Regions from separate parts of the Homo sapiens genome. Here regions 1, 2 and 3 are each linked to region 4. The links are contacts of gene promoters, found by promoter capture Hi-C in blood cells and fetal thymus (Javierre and others, 2016). All regions are on one chromosome and are shown on one strand. Each heading gives the region's core, a stretch centred on a gene start or on the middle of the fragment in contact. The rest is flanking DNA. Distances are from core to core; before and after follow the strand shown. Region 1 overlaps PMM2 (phosphomannomutase 2). Region 2 holds the start of LOC100130283 (a long non-coding RNA gene). Region 3 overlaps ABAT (4-aminobutyrate aminotransferase). Region 4 holds the start of METTL22 (methyltransferase 22, Kin17 lysine).

Region 1 (2,700 bases), core at 109-2,608, 200 kb after region 4:
ATAAGCCAAATATGCCTCTTTTGGACTTTAGGGGACTTTTTTTTTTTAACTTAGAATTTGATCTTGGGAAGTTTGTTAAATATCAAAGGTTTGAAACACTAGATATCACAAAGTAGAATCCCAGGTCACCATAAGTAATTCATTTAGCCACAATGATAACTCAAACATTTTGTAACAGGAAAAACCTTTACTCTGATAGAGAGAAGACTCAGCTTTCTAAACAACAAAACCCAGTGAAGATAGCATGAGGCCAACTGAATCTTTCTTTTATTTTTTTTAATAGTTTACTCCAAAGCCAAATAAAAATCTTTCATTGTCTCTCTCTGTCAATATTACATAAAAATATTCTTCAAAAGAGAAAACCAAATTTTATCTCGCATTAGTGCATCTTTAATGCTAAAGCTAGTTTTGTTTTTGTTGTTGTTTGAGGTGGAGTCTCGCTCTGTTGCCCAGGCTGGAGTACAGTGGCACGATCTCAGCTCACTGCAAGCTCTATCTCCTGGGTTCATGCCATTCTCCTGCTTCAGCCTCCCGAGTAGCTGGGACTACAGGCGTGTGCCACCACGCCTGGCTAATTTTTTGTATTTTTTAGTAGAGACGGGGTTTCACCATGTTAGCCAGGATGGTCTTGATCTCCTGACCTCGTGATCCACCCACCTCGGCCTCCCAAAGTGCTAGGATTACAGGCATGAGCCACTGTGCCCGGCCTGTTGTAGTTTTGAGACGGAGTTTCACTCTTGTCACCCAGGCTGGAGTGCAGTGGCATGATCTCGGCTCACTGCACCCTCCGCCTCCTGGGTTCAAGCGATTCTCCTGCCTCCCAAGTAGCTGGGATTACAGGCACCCACCACCACTCCTGGCTAATTTTTGTATTTTTTAGTAGAGACTGGGTTTCGCCATGTTGGCCAGGCTGGTCTTGAACTCCTGACCCCACGTGATCGCCCACCTCAGCCTCCCAAAGCGCTGGGATTACAGTTGTGAGCCACCACTCCTAGCCAAAGCTAGTTTTTAATAAAATTTTACAAACAAATGTATCCGATTTTAGTTTGACTGTAGGGTAACATTTTCGTAAACCTTTTATATAACCCTTTATAATTGTTTGTTAACAAATCAGTGTTCAAAAATAAAACACTATTTTTTTTTTTTTTTTTGAGATGGAGTCTTGCTCCATTGCCCAGGCTGGAGTGCAGTGGCACATTCTCAGCTCACTGCAACCTCTGCCTCTCAGGTTCAAGCAATTCTTCTGCCTCAACCTCCCGAGTAGCTGGGACTACAGGCGTGTGCCACCACGCCCGGCTAATTTTTGTATTTTTAGTAGAGACAGGATTTCACCATATGGGCCAGGCTGGTTTCGAACTTCTGACCTCGTGATCTGCCTGCGTCGGCCTTCCAAAGTGCTAGGATTACAGGCATGTGCCACCGCATCTGGCATAAAACCCTATTATTTTGATATATGGGCCCAGATTCTGGCCCTGCATCAGTATGCTTTTAATATTTAATTTATGGAAAAAATTAAATAATACCCTTTCGATTTTAGCCAGCTTGCTCACACACAGAGTTGTTCACAAAGTTAATTTTTCACAAACCTACAATTTGCTTAAACTTTCAGTTTTATTTTGTCTTTCAACCAAAAATAATCTTTAAACTCTCTAAATTAGAGAAGATTTTCTCTTTTAAAAAAACCCATATTCCCATGTCTTTAAGCAGTTTTAATTACATACCAAGTGCAGAGCCTAGAATACAGGACAGAACTGCAGATAAAGTCTGACTCTCTCTGGCCTAGCTAGGAGTCATGGCTACCTCCATATGTCCCCAGGCCTTATCTGGAATCTAATGGCTCTAAAGTAGGTAAATTGAACAATTACAAAAGTCACAGAAGCCACTTATGACCTTAAAGCATCCAGCAGAAACAGTATCTGATCTGCCTAATTCAGACCAAATGAAGACAGTTTTATTTCATCAATAATCTTTAAAACTATCTTTATTTACCAAAGATTACTAACGTCATGTGAACTAAAATGCATTAGAGTTGCTATTTCTTTGAAAAAATATTTAAGTGCTTATTTTTTAAGCCAATTAATTACAGCTCTTAAACATCACACACACAACATTATAAATATATAGACCGAAGAAGATGCATTAGTTAAGATTTTTCATTTGCTGATTTTTTAGGGGTTTTTTTTCCCCATTTTACAAATCTTGTCACGACTCACAGAGACCATCTATGCCATGCTTGGACTGTCTGACTTGTCCTATGTGTCCCTCTTTCGTGAATAATCAGTCGTTCTATTTTAGGACAAGAATTTACCATACAAGATCTTTTCTCATATAAATTTCTTTTTTTATAATCATCCTTACCAAAAATACATCTTTATAGCCTCAACTTTTTTCACATATCTCTCTCCCCTACTAAAGTAATTCCTGATGCCCTCAAAAGTGAAAAAGGCCAAGTAATGTGATTCAAAACAGAACAGAGCCTTAGATTTTGAGAGGGGTCTGTCTGCTTACACTTCTTGGGGTTTTATGAGGAAAACAGAGTTTCTCCCAAAACAGGGTCTGTGGAGCCTTCTCTCTTTTTCCCAAGGAGTCCCCAGCTGTCAGAAAGTACCTTAGGTCCTCTCATGTGGGCATTCAGAGTGGCAGGAAGACAGACTGGGGAAATAATTCAGTTGACTGAGAAGAAAGACAAACAAAAACTCA
Region 2 (3,076 bases), core at 146-2,645, 230 kb after region 4:
GCATGTGCAGTCTGGACTTCCACCTCCAGTGCCAGAAACTTCCAGAAGGAAGGAGAAAACTCTTGTCAAGAATGGCCCAGAGGAATGCCTCGCACAAAAGGTCTTCCCCACCCACCCCCAGCCCCCTAGTCTAATACCCACCCTGATACGTGCAATCATGTAGTTTTGGCGGAAATTTCCCCATCATTCTAGGATGATACAGAAAGAAAAACTGTGCCTGGACCCTCCCTCTTGGTGGGTCTGTGGAAACATAAGCGGTTTTTTTAATGGGCCCCTGCATCAATACCAAACATGGGGGTTTGGTAATGAGAAACCAGGACAGGCCATCTGCAGTGACCCAGCCCAGGACGAAGTTTACAAACACCTCCTGGAACGAAGCTCCCGCCTGCATGTCACCTTGATGGGGGCTGTGAGTGGGGCAGTGTGATACCCAGTGACTAGACGCACTCTGCGTTTTCCCGTGTTTGGGGCTGAGGCCTGCTGGACAGATGGCTGGCCAAGTGGGAGCAGACCCTAGGGAGTTTGCACCTCGGCTGGGCCGGATTCGGACCGGCTCTGTGTTCACTACACTCAGAATAGCCTGGCTGCTTCTCTGTCTCCGAGACCGGAGGTAGTGGGAACCAACAGCTGGGCTGGAGAGTTGGTGCTGGCAAAACAGTCCTTGCCCTGGGGCCGGTTCTTACCCAGGTCCAGAGAAACCAACGCGGGATGTCAGACTTCACCAAAAGGACTTTCTGGTTGCCCCTGGCTGGCTTCCTGGAGGCGTTCGCCTCTAGTTTCTCAGGGATGGAGCGAGAGCCCAGCCAGAGAACAGTAAGAGGAGCTGCTCTCCTATCTGCACTCACCCAGGCCTTCACCCAGACTTTACCACGGAGGCGGCTGAGTGCAGCTACAGCTAGGTCCGCGTCCCTCACTCTTTTCATCTTCTGCACGTTCTTCGTGAAACTGGAAGGATCCCGGGTCTCAGCTAGAACACGGTGGAAGAGAACTTTCCTAGGAAACGGTTCATGTGTCACTTTTCAGGATGTGGAAACACTGAGCCATACACCCTCCATTGCTTGGTGCTGGGGTTGTGTGGCCTCCACTGGGCACTTGCCGACCTGAGTCTGGGGCCAGGGGAGCCCAGGCTGCCCTGCACTCCTGCCTCCCAGCCCACAGCCAGGTGCTTTCATCACAGCTAAACCTGGTTCCCTCCAAACCTCCCAGCCACTCGGGCTTGTAACTGTCTGAGCCCCGGATCCGGTGGGGTGAAAGCAGCCAGCTCATCCCAGTGACTCACAGGACACAGCCATCCAGCGGCATCTTTCCTTGTCGAATGATACTGTAATGACCTTCCAAAGTGAAGAGTAGCACATTAAAGTGATTTTATTGTTTCCTGTTTCTCATTCCGATTTCTTTTTCCTCCTATGTTCCCAGATTCTGGAATGGAACCCCAGCCCTTCCAGGTCTGAGAGCCACTCTTTCTTTACTCTGGATTTCTGTCACATCGGGGGCCCCTCCCTCTGCGGAGTTGCATGTTGCTGTTCCTGATGCACAGACTCCTCCCCCGCTGCTTTTCTGCCCACTGGGTCAGGATCTGCCATTCTTTACAAGTTTCCTTAACGTATTGCGTCAAAGCGAGACAACCGAGTCTTACTCAAACTTGTTTTAACCGGAGATGGAGGGTTGCTGCTGTGTCACCGCCTGCACAGGGCTGCCCTCAGGTGAGTACCCCGAGTCTGCCAGGCTGGGTGCTGATGCGCGGAGGTTTGGGCCGTCCCTGCCCCAGTTCCCACAGTGGCTGCTTGAGACCCTCCCCAGGCCCCTCGAGCCCCTCCTGCACTGTCTGCTGCCTCCCTTCTGCAGTCAGAATTGACACTCCCCTTCCACCTTCTTTGTCATCACATTGCATCCCAGGCCAGCTTCCTGGGGCTTACTCCAAGGGCATCGGCTTGCCCCGCACTGTGGTGGGATGTAAAGTGATAACAGCTAAACGACGCATGCACAACATGTCCTGGTGCCTTCTGCGTGACCCCAGAGCAGCAGGTTCTGCACATGGCAGGTAAGAGCACAGCTGCCAAGACCCCAAGCCTAGTTCTGCTGCTACAAGCTGCTGCGTGACTTAAGGTGAGTTCATCTTCGCCTCAGTTTCCTCCTCTGTCAAATGGGATAGTCCTTACCGTGTATGGAATTTAAAGCACTTTGAACAGTGAGTGTGAGCCATTACTAACTCAAGTAATACCCCTTCCCAACCCAGAACCCTATAAGGCAGGGACAGTCAGTCCCTCTCTCTGCTTTAGGGGGTTGCAGGATAAAGACACCGTCACAAGAAATTTAAACACAGTAGGTAAATTTTGAGCCACAGCAAAGCACAGAGGTTGCATCCAGGCCAGCTTAGCACTGTTGAAAGTCACCATCCCCAGCACTGCAGAAGCTGACCCTGAACTCAAGGTCACCCAGGGCTTAAGCCTCAGAGAAAAGGCCTGGGTTGAACCTGAGCAGTGGGTGAGTGCAGGGCAGGCCTCTGGCTCCCTGGAGGGAGAGGCTAGCCAGGAAGTTGAGCTTGAACCTGATCCCGAGGGAGAGGTGTGGGGCATGCTCATGATCTGTCCGGGAAGGTCTCTCCAGCTACTGGAAGGGGAGTGCCCACAGGGGCCAGGAGAAGGCAGTTGGGCAGATGTTGCCGTAGTCCGGACACATCCAGGCATACGTGGTTTTGAATCACTTCCTCTCCAAGGGCTGCTGCTTCCTCTCCACCCCTCCCAAGTGTTCTGGCTCTGGGCCCCAGCTGGCCACCTCAGCCCAGGCAGGCTCCTCCAACCTGAACGACAGGCAACCTCCACGCTGCCTGCCACGGCACCCCAAAGTCAAGACGTAGAACTCATTCCACCTCCTTCACCCGAGGCTGCTTTCCCAAACGTCTTCCCAGTCCCACCTTCAGTTTTGTTTTTTGTTGTTGTTGTTGCTATTGTTTTTGAGACAAGTCACTGTTGTTGCCCAGCCTGGAGTGCAATGGCACGATCTCAGCTCGCTGCAACCTCCGCCTCCCCGGTTCAAGCAATTCTACTGCCTCAGCCTCCCGAGTAGCTGAGATTAC
Region 3 (2,713 bases), core at 138-2,637, 130 kb after region 4:
ATGGTGTACTTCACTGATTCAAGCTTAATCCTAAAAGCCCAAGAATCTAGGGAGTGGCAGTGAGCCTGAGTTGGTCTTTTCTTTCTCCAAGAATGCAGAGGCTGTGCATTTTTTCTGCAATTACGAAGAGAGCCGAGGCAATTACCTGGTTGATGTGGACGGCAACCGAATGCTGGATCTTTATTCCCAGATCTCCTCTGTCCCCATAGGTAAGAGCTGGGAAATCATTCCTTGGATATAACCTCTGTTTCTGTCTCTCCTAGTCGTGGCTATCCAGGTATTAGGATGTGGCTTCCAGCAGGCACATCCCAGAGTGTTGCCTGACACTTCACCCAAGGGTAGGAAAAAAATAAATAATGTGTAAAGGGTATATTATTAGACATATTATATGTCCTCTCTCATCTACTCCTTCCCCAAATTCCACAGGGTAAGTATGTATTAATATCCCCATTTTGCAGATAGGTAAACAAAGCATAGAAAGGTTTGGTACCTTGCGTAGGAATCATAGCTAGAATGCAAACCCATCTGTGTGACCACAGTGGCACCCAGGTAGGTGTCTTAGGTTGAGTTTCCTCGAAGAAGAGCCTGAGGTGGGGATTTCCTTTTTCCCTGCTTTTTTTTTTTTTTTTTTTTTTCCAGACGAAGTCTTGTTCTGTCGACCAGGCGGGAGTGAAGTGGCGTGATCTTGGCTCACTGCAACCTCTGCCTCCCGGGTTCAAGTGATTCTCATGCCTCAGCCTCCCAAGTAGCTGGGATTACAGGCACACGCCACCATGCCTATCTAATTTTTGCATTTTTAGTAGAGACGGGGTTTTACCATGTTGGCCAGGGTAGTCTAGAACTCCTGACCGCAAGTGATCTGCCTGCCTCAGCCTCCCACAGTGCTGGGATTACAGGTGTGAGCCACTATACCCAGCCTAATTTTTTTATTTTTTGTAGAGATGGTGGTCTCACTATGCGCTGCCCAGGCTGGTCTCGAACTCCTGGACTCAAGTGATCCTCCCACCTTGGCCTCCCAAAGTGCTAGGATTTCAGGTGTGAGCCACTGAACCCAGCCAGAGGTAGGGATTCTTGGGCAGGTTATTGATTGAGGGAGAGCTCTCAGGAGAAAGGGGAGGAAAGGAAACAGCCTGGGGCAGGGGGAATAAGCTAAGAAGGATGAGGTCTTAGCTAGAACTATCCACAGCCTGACCCCACTTCGGGCTCTGGTGCATACACCACACCCCAGAGTTGGTCTCAGACTGAAGCAAAGGGCCTGGCTTTTTATGACCCTTCACCAGCCAGTCATCGCCCATCAGCTGCGAGAGGGGAGAACTCGTATAATCTCCTCGGAAAAGTGGCTTCCATTTGCCAAGGGCGATTTTCCAGGCAAGGAGGCAGCTGGAGTTATTATCAATCAACACACACAGCAGCTGGAAAACGGTGACCTGCCCAGTAAAAGTGACCTCGGTGGGATGCCCACAGCGTCTGCCTCCCCAGCCTCGCCTCCCAGCCATATAGAGTGTTCACTCGCTGTATAAAAGGGCACACAGACAGGATGGACAGGGCTAAATTGGAAATGCAGGTAGCTGCTATTTGCAGCTTGGATGGTTAATGTTTCTTTGGCTGATGGATTCCTGGCTACATTGAGTAGTCCATAGGCTGTGTCTGATGAAGCCTGTCCCTTCACAGGTAATGCTGGTTCTTCTGCTGCAGAAGAGCCCGGGGCATCCTCCGCTCCCCATCAGCACCTCCCTTTGGACCCTGCTCAGAAGCCTGGAGCCTTTCCCTGAGACCCAGCCTTGGCTGTCCCCCCTCCTCTTCTTCCCCTGCTCATTTCCTCACACCTATTTATTTGCCACTAACATGAGATTAGACAGTAAGCGGATGACTCATTCTTTGGGGGAAGTCCATCATTCAGGAATGCCTCAGCTATGGAAGGCATTTTGGAGACAAGAATTTAAAAACCCCATCTCCCCTTTGTGTGGGAGTGGAAGGGATGGGCTCTTGAGTTGTCCTGGGTTCAAATCCTGGCTCTACTATATATTAGCTGTGGGACTGTGACCCACCCCCGAGGACTCCCTCAGTCTGAATGCCCAGCTAGCCACTGTGTGCATGAAGGTCAGGGAATCAGATTAGCAGCATTTGTTTAAAAAACTAGAAGTTTGGTCGGGCACGGTGGAGCACGCTGATAATCCCAGCACTTTGGGAGGCCAAGGGAAGAGGATTGTTTGAGGCCAGGAGTTTAAGACCAATCTGGGCATTATAGTGAGAACCAACCCCAATCTCTACAAAAGAGTTTTAAAAATTAGCTAGTCATGCTGGTGCATGCCTGTAGTCCCAGCTACTCTGGAGGCTCAGTCAGGAGGATCTCTGGAGCCCAGGAGTTTGAGGCTGCAGTGGGCTATGATCACTCCACTGCACTCCAGCCTGAGGCAACAGTGCAAGACCCTGTCTCAGTAAAAAACAAAAACAGAAAAATTCTAGAAGTTCTAAAAGTTCTCTCTCTGGCCACCTGTCCTCCCGTATCTGTAGTCTTTGAAAAGATTTTTTTAAGTTAATACTTATAGAGAATTTACTATGCACTTGGCATATTGCCAAGTGCCTTATACATTATCTCATTAAATGGCTACAGCCACCTTGGAGTAGGGTCTTCTAACATCACCTCCAGTTGACTGATGGGCCCGAGTCTCAAGAGCTTGCAGGATTTTCCTGGCATACACAGGGAGTCCAA
Region 4 (3,011 bases), core at 319-2,818:
CCCTCCCCACCACTCAACATCCTCTGGGGATAACTAAGAGAACCCTCAGCGAACTAGAGAGAAAACTATGAATAGAATCTGGTCCCAAGACACCCAACTGGCTCTCTGTGTACTGTCCTGGGGGATTTCAGGAAACATAATCTGTTTCTTAAAAAAAAAAAAAAAAAAAATTCTTATTTGTGTCGCTTAGTCACCCTATCAACTCTCCACGTTTTATCATCAGTAACCATGAAATTGATGTTGATTTAATTCTATTTTGAAAAGAGAAAAAAAAGTAATTTAGACAAAGGTTGCCAGCTGAGGCCATGTGTGTGCGTGTGTGTATATGTGAACACACAGGGATATAGATTTTACATATGTGGACTTTACATATGTTCCTGTGTGTATATTTGTATGTTCACTGACATGTCTGAGAGTGAGCACCACTGTGTGTGTCTGGGCATGTCTGTGAACACGTCAGTGTGGTGTATATCCCTGGCAGCTCCCCATCTCACGCACAGTAAAATCCAAAGTTCTTAGAATGTCACAAAAGTTCTAACCCTGGCTACCTATGTATCCTCGTTTCCTGCGGCCCATCCCCTGGCTTACTCCATTGTGGCCAGGCTGACTTCCATGATGTCACTGAATATATAGATTGAGAAAAGGGCCAATATTATTGACTGTACTTTTTCTAAAAATGCAGTGACTCAGGCAAGAGACGTGAGAATCTGTGGTCTATCCTGCTCATCCTCTTCAGGGGATTCTTCTGAGGGCTGTGCTCAGTCACGGACTCAGAGGCTTTCTGAAATTCTGCAGGCAAGAAAAAACGAGCAAACATGGAGTCTTATGTTTGCCACTCTGTCTCACCCCCTTGGTGTTGGAAACTTGATGAGCATACGAATTAACGAAATCACTACCACCTAATGAAATCACTACCACCTATTAATAATAACAAGTACTGGCTGGGCGTGGTGGCTCATGCCTGTAATTTATGAGCTTTAGGAGGCCGAAGCAGGAGGACTGCTTGAAGCCAGGAGTTTGAGACCAGCCTGGGCAACACAACAAGATACAGTCTGTACAAAAAAAAAAAAAAATGGTGCCACGCAACTGTAGTCCCAGCTACTAGAGAGGCTGAAACAGGATTCCTTAAGCCCAGGAGTTCAAGGCTGCAGTGAGCTAAAATTGCGCCGCTGCACTCCAGCCTGGGTGACAGAGCAAGACCATCTCAAATAAACAAACAAACAAACAAACGAGTACTAAGAGCATGGATGACGGTAACACCCGTGATAATAAATACAGTAGCATGCTGGTTAAATAGCACCGGCTCTGATCCCACACCCCGGGTTCGAATCCAGGCTTTACCACTTAGTAGCTGGGAGAGTTATTTAACTCCTATTTAAGTCTTTTAGAGGAATGAGTTTAGCCACCTAGGCGGGTCCCCCCAGCAAACACGCCTCGCCCGCGACCAGAGCGAAGGCTACAGGTGCCCGCCGGCAACCCTCGGACGCATGCGCGGCCCGGGCAGGTAGGTGGAGCCACGGTGCGGGGCAGTCGGATGGTCGCACGCGGGGGCGGGGCCGCGCCTGCGCAGACCGCCTGTTATGGCGGCCGCCTAAGTCCCACAGAGACGGGAGTCGGGTGGGATCCCAGGCTGGGCCCCGCGGCGGGTAAGTGCCTGGGAGAGGCGGCGGGATAGGGTAGGGTGCAGGGAACCTCCTGGCGCCGAGCCTGACTTTGAAATCCGAGCTCCCACAGATCGGAGGCCCAGATCCCTAAGGCCCGACCCCACTCTTAGCGTCAGTTTCCCCTTCTCAACACGGGTGTTGGGGAAAGAAGTCCACGTCCTCACCTGGGTTTCCATCCTGGGTCCAGGCACCTCTCCTTCGGTTCTAGATTAGGAAGGGAGGGCAGTGCCCGACCTGTGACTGTTTTTTGAGAGGGCAATAGTTAACCCACAAGGGTGGCGTCAGGAAGGCGACAAGACAAAGAGAACGAGTAGCCCCACGGGGGACGTCCCCGGAGCCCCTCACTACCACTCTACGCACCGTGGCCAGGCCACGTCTTTCCTGCCCCCAGCCTGGGCCTTCACACCCTGCCCTCCCCAGCTCCTGGCCTAAATCGTCATGGGATCGCGCCAAATTATTGATTGTTGAGTGAGTTGCAGTTATCAGAAAGAAAGATGAGGAGGGAAGTTATTTCAACACCGTGATCCCAGCACACTGCTTATTTGGGACAACTGACTGGGGACCTATAGGAGAAGAAAGCTGGTAGCGTCTCAGTCTAGCCCCCACAGCCTTAGAAGAGCCAAGAACACGTTAGCTCCTGCTGCAGGGATGAGCCTGCAGCCCTATGGAGAGGTGGTGGGGCAGGTCCCCATCTGCAACCTGGGTCTCCTTTCTCAGCTCTGCCCAGTAAAGAGAGGAGCCCGAAGCCCATACAGACCCTGCATTTCCGGAAAGAGACTTTTCCTGACTAGAGAAACTGTTACCTTTTTTCTTTCTTCCCAGCATTCACTTTAATCATTATTATATTACTATAATGATAGTATTTACTATTGTTGCTTATTGAACGTTTACTATATGTCGTAAGCCCGAAAAGTGGTAATTGTCTCATATACTCCTCTGAGTATATGAGGGCCTGAGATAGGTTCAAGAGGGCCTCCTTATTCCCAGATAGCTGATTCTAGGGAAAGCCACTTAAAGGGAATCTCCTTCATCTGGAACTTACATTGCAGCGTACATTTCTTGGGAAGCCTGGTTGGGTTGAATTTAAAAATGGAAAATTCAACTAGAGATTAAGAATTTGAGTTTTTTTGTGTGTGTCTATACTTAAAATTTGGTGTGTAATATTATGCTCACTTTTGGAAAAAGCAAAGAACATTGATTTTTCTGGGATGTAAGTTTTCCAACAAAATTGCGCTATAGGCCATGCCTGGTGGCTCACACCTATAATCCCAGCACTTTGGGAGGCCAAGGTAGATGGATCTACCTTGGTCAGGAGTTCAAGACTAGCCTGGCCAACATGGCAAAACC

Evidence for each region. The method cuts DNA at HindIII sites, captures the fragments that hold promoters and counts their contacts. A CHiCAGO score of 5 or more calls a contact.
Region 1: a fragment that was not itself captured here is called in contact with the fragment with the promoter of METTL22 in region 4 in 1 of 17 cell types (neutrophils); the score reaches 6.5 in neutrophils.
Region 2: a contact is called between a fragment that was not itself captured here and the fragment with the promoter of METTL22 in region 4, in 1 of 17 cell types (neutrophils). The highest score is 10.7, in neutrophils.
Region 3: a contact is called between a fragment that was not itself captured here and the fragment with the promoter of METTL22 in region 4, in 1 of 17 cell types (neutrophils). The highest score is 8.8, in neutrophils.

The regions. Positions count from the first base shown.
Region 1 is chr16:8,824,623-8,827,322 of GRCh38, forward strand. All of the region lies in intron 7 of PMM2 (phosphomannomutase 2), which reads left to right. Among named protein-coding and RNA genes, the nearest start is that of PMM2, 28 kb to the left of the region's middle. The HindIII fragment of the contact is 4,887 bases long and covers 1-2,700 here.
Region 2 is chr16:8,847,953-8,851,028 of GRCh38, forward strand. PMM2 (phosphomannomutase 2) reads left to right here. Exons shown (of 8, transcript NM_000303.3): 8 at 1-1,373. It overlaps LOC100130283 (a long non-coding RNA gene), which reads left to right and starts at 1,517. Exons shown (of 5, transcript NR_147908.1): 1 at 1,517-1,703; 2 at 1,897-2,041; 3 at 2,981-3,076. RefSeq lists an enhancer at 2,431-2,570. The HindIII fragment of the contact is 5,253 bases long and covers 1-3,076 here.
Region 3 is chr16:8,750,331-8,753,043 of GRCh38, forward strand. It overlaps ABAT (4-aminobutyrate aminotransferase), which reads left to right. Exons shown (of 16, transcript NM_020686.6): 5 at 92-209. Among named protein-coding and RNA genes, the nearest start is that of TMEM186, 46 kb to the right of the region's middle. RefSeq lists an enhancer at 1,021-1,765. The HindIII fragment of the contact is 2,732 bases long and covers 22-2,713 here.
Region 4 is chr16:8,620,130-8,623,140 of GRCh38, forward strand. It overlaps METTL22 (methyltransferase 22, Kin17 lysine), which reads left to right and starts at 1,569. Exons shown (of 11, transcript NM_024109.4): 1 at 1,569-1,646. The HindIII fragment of the contact is 6,720 bases long and covers 1-3,011 here.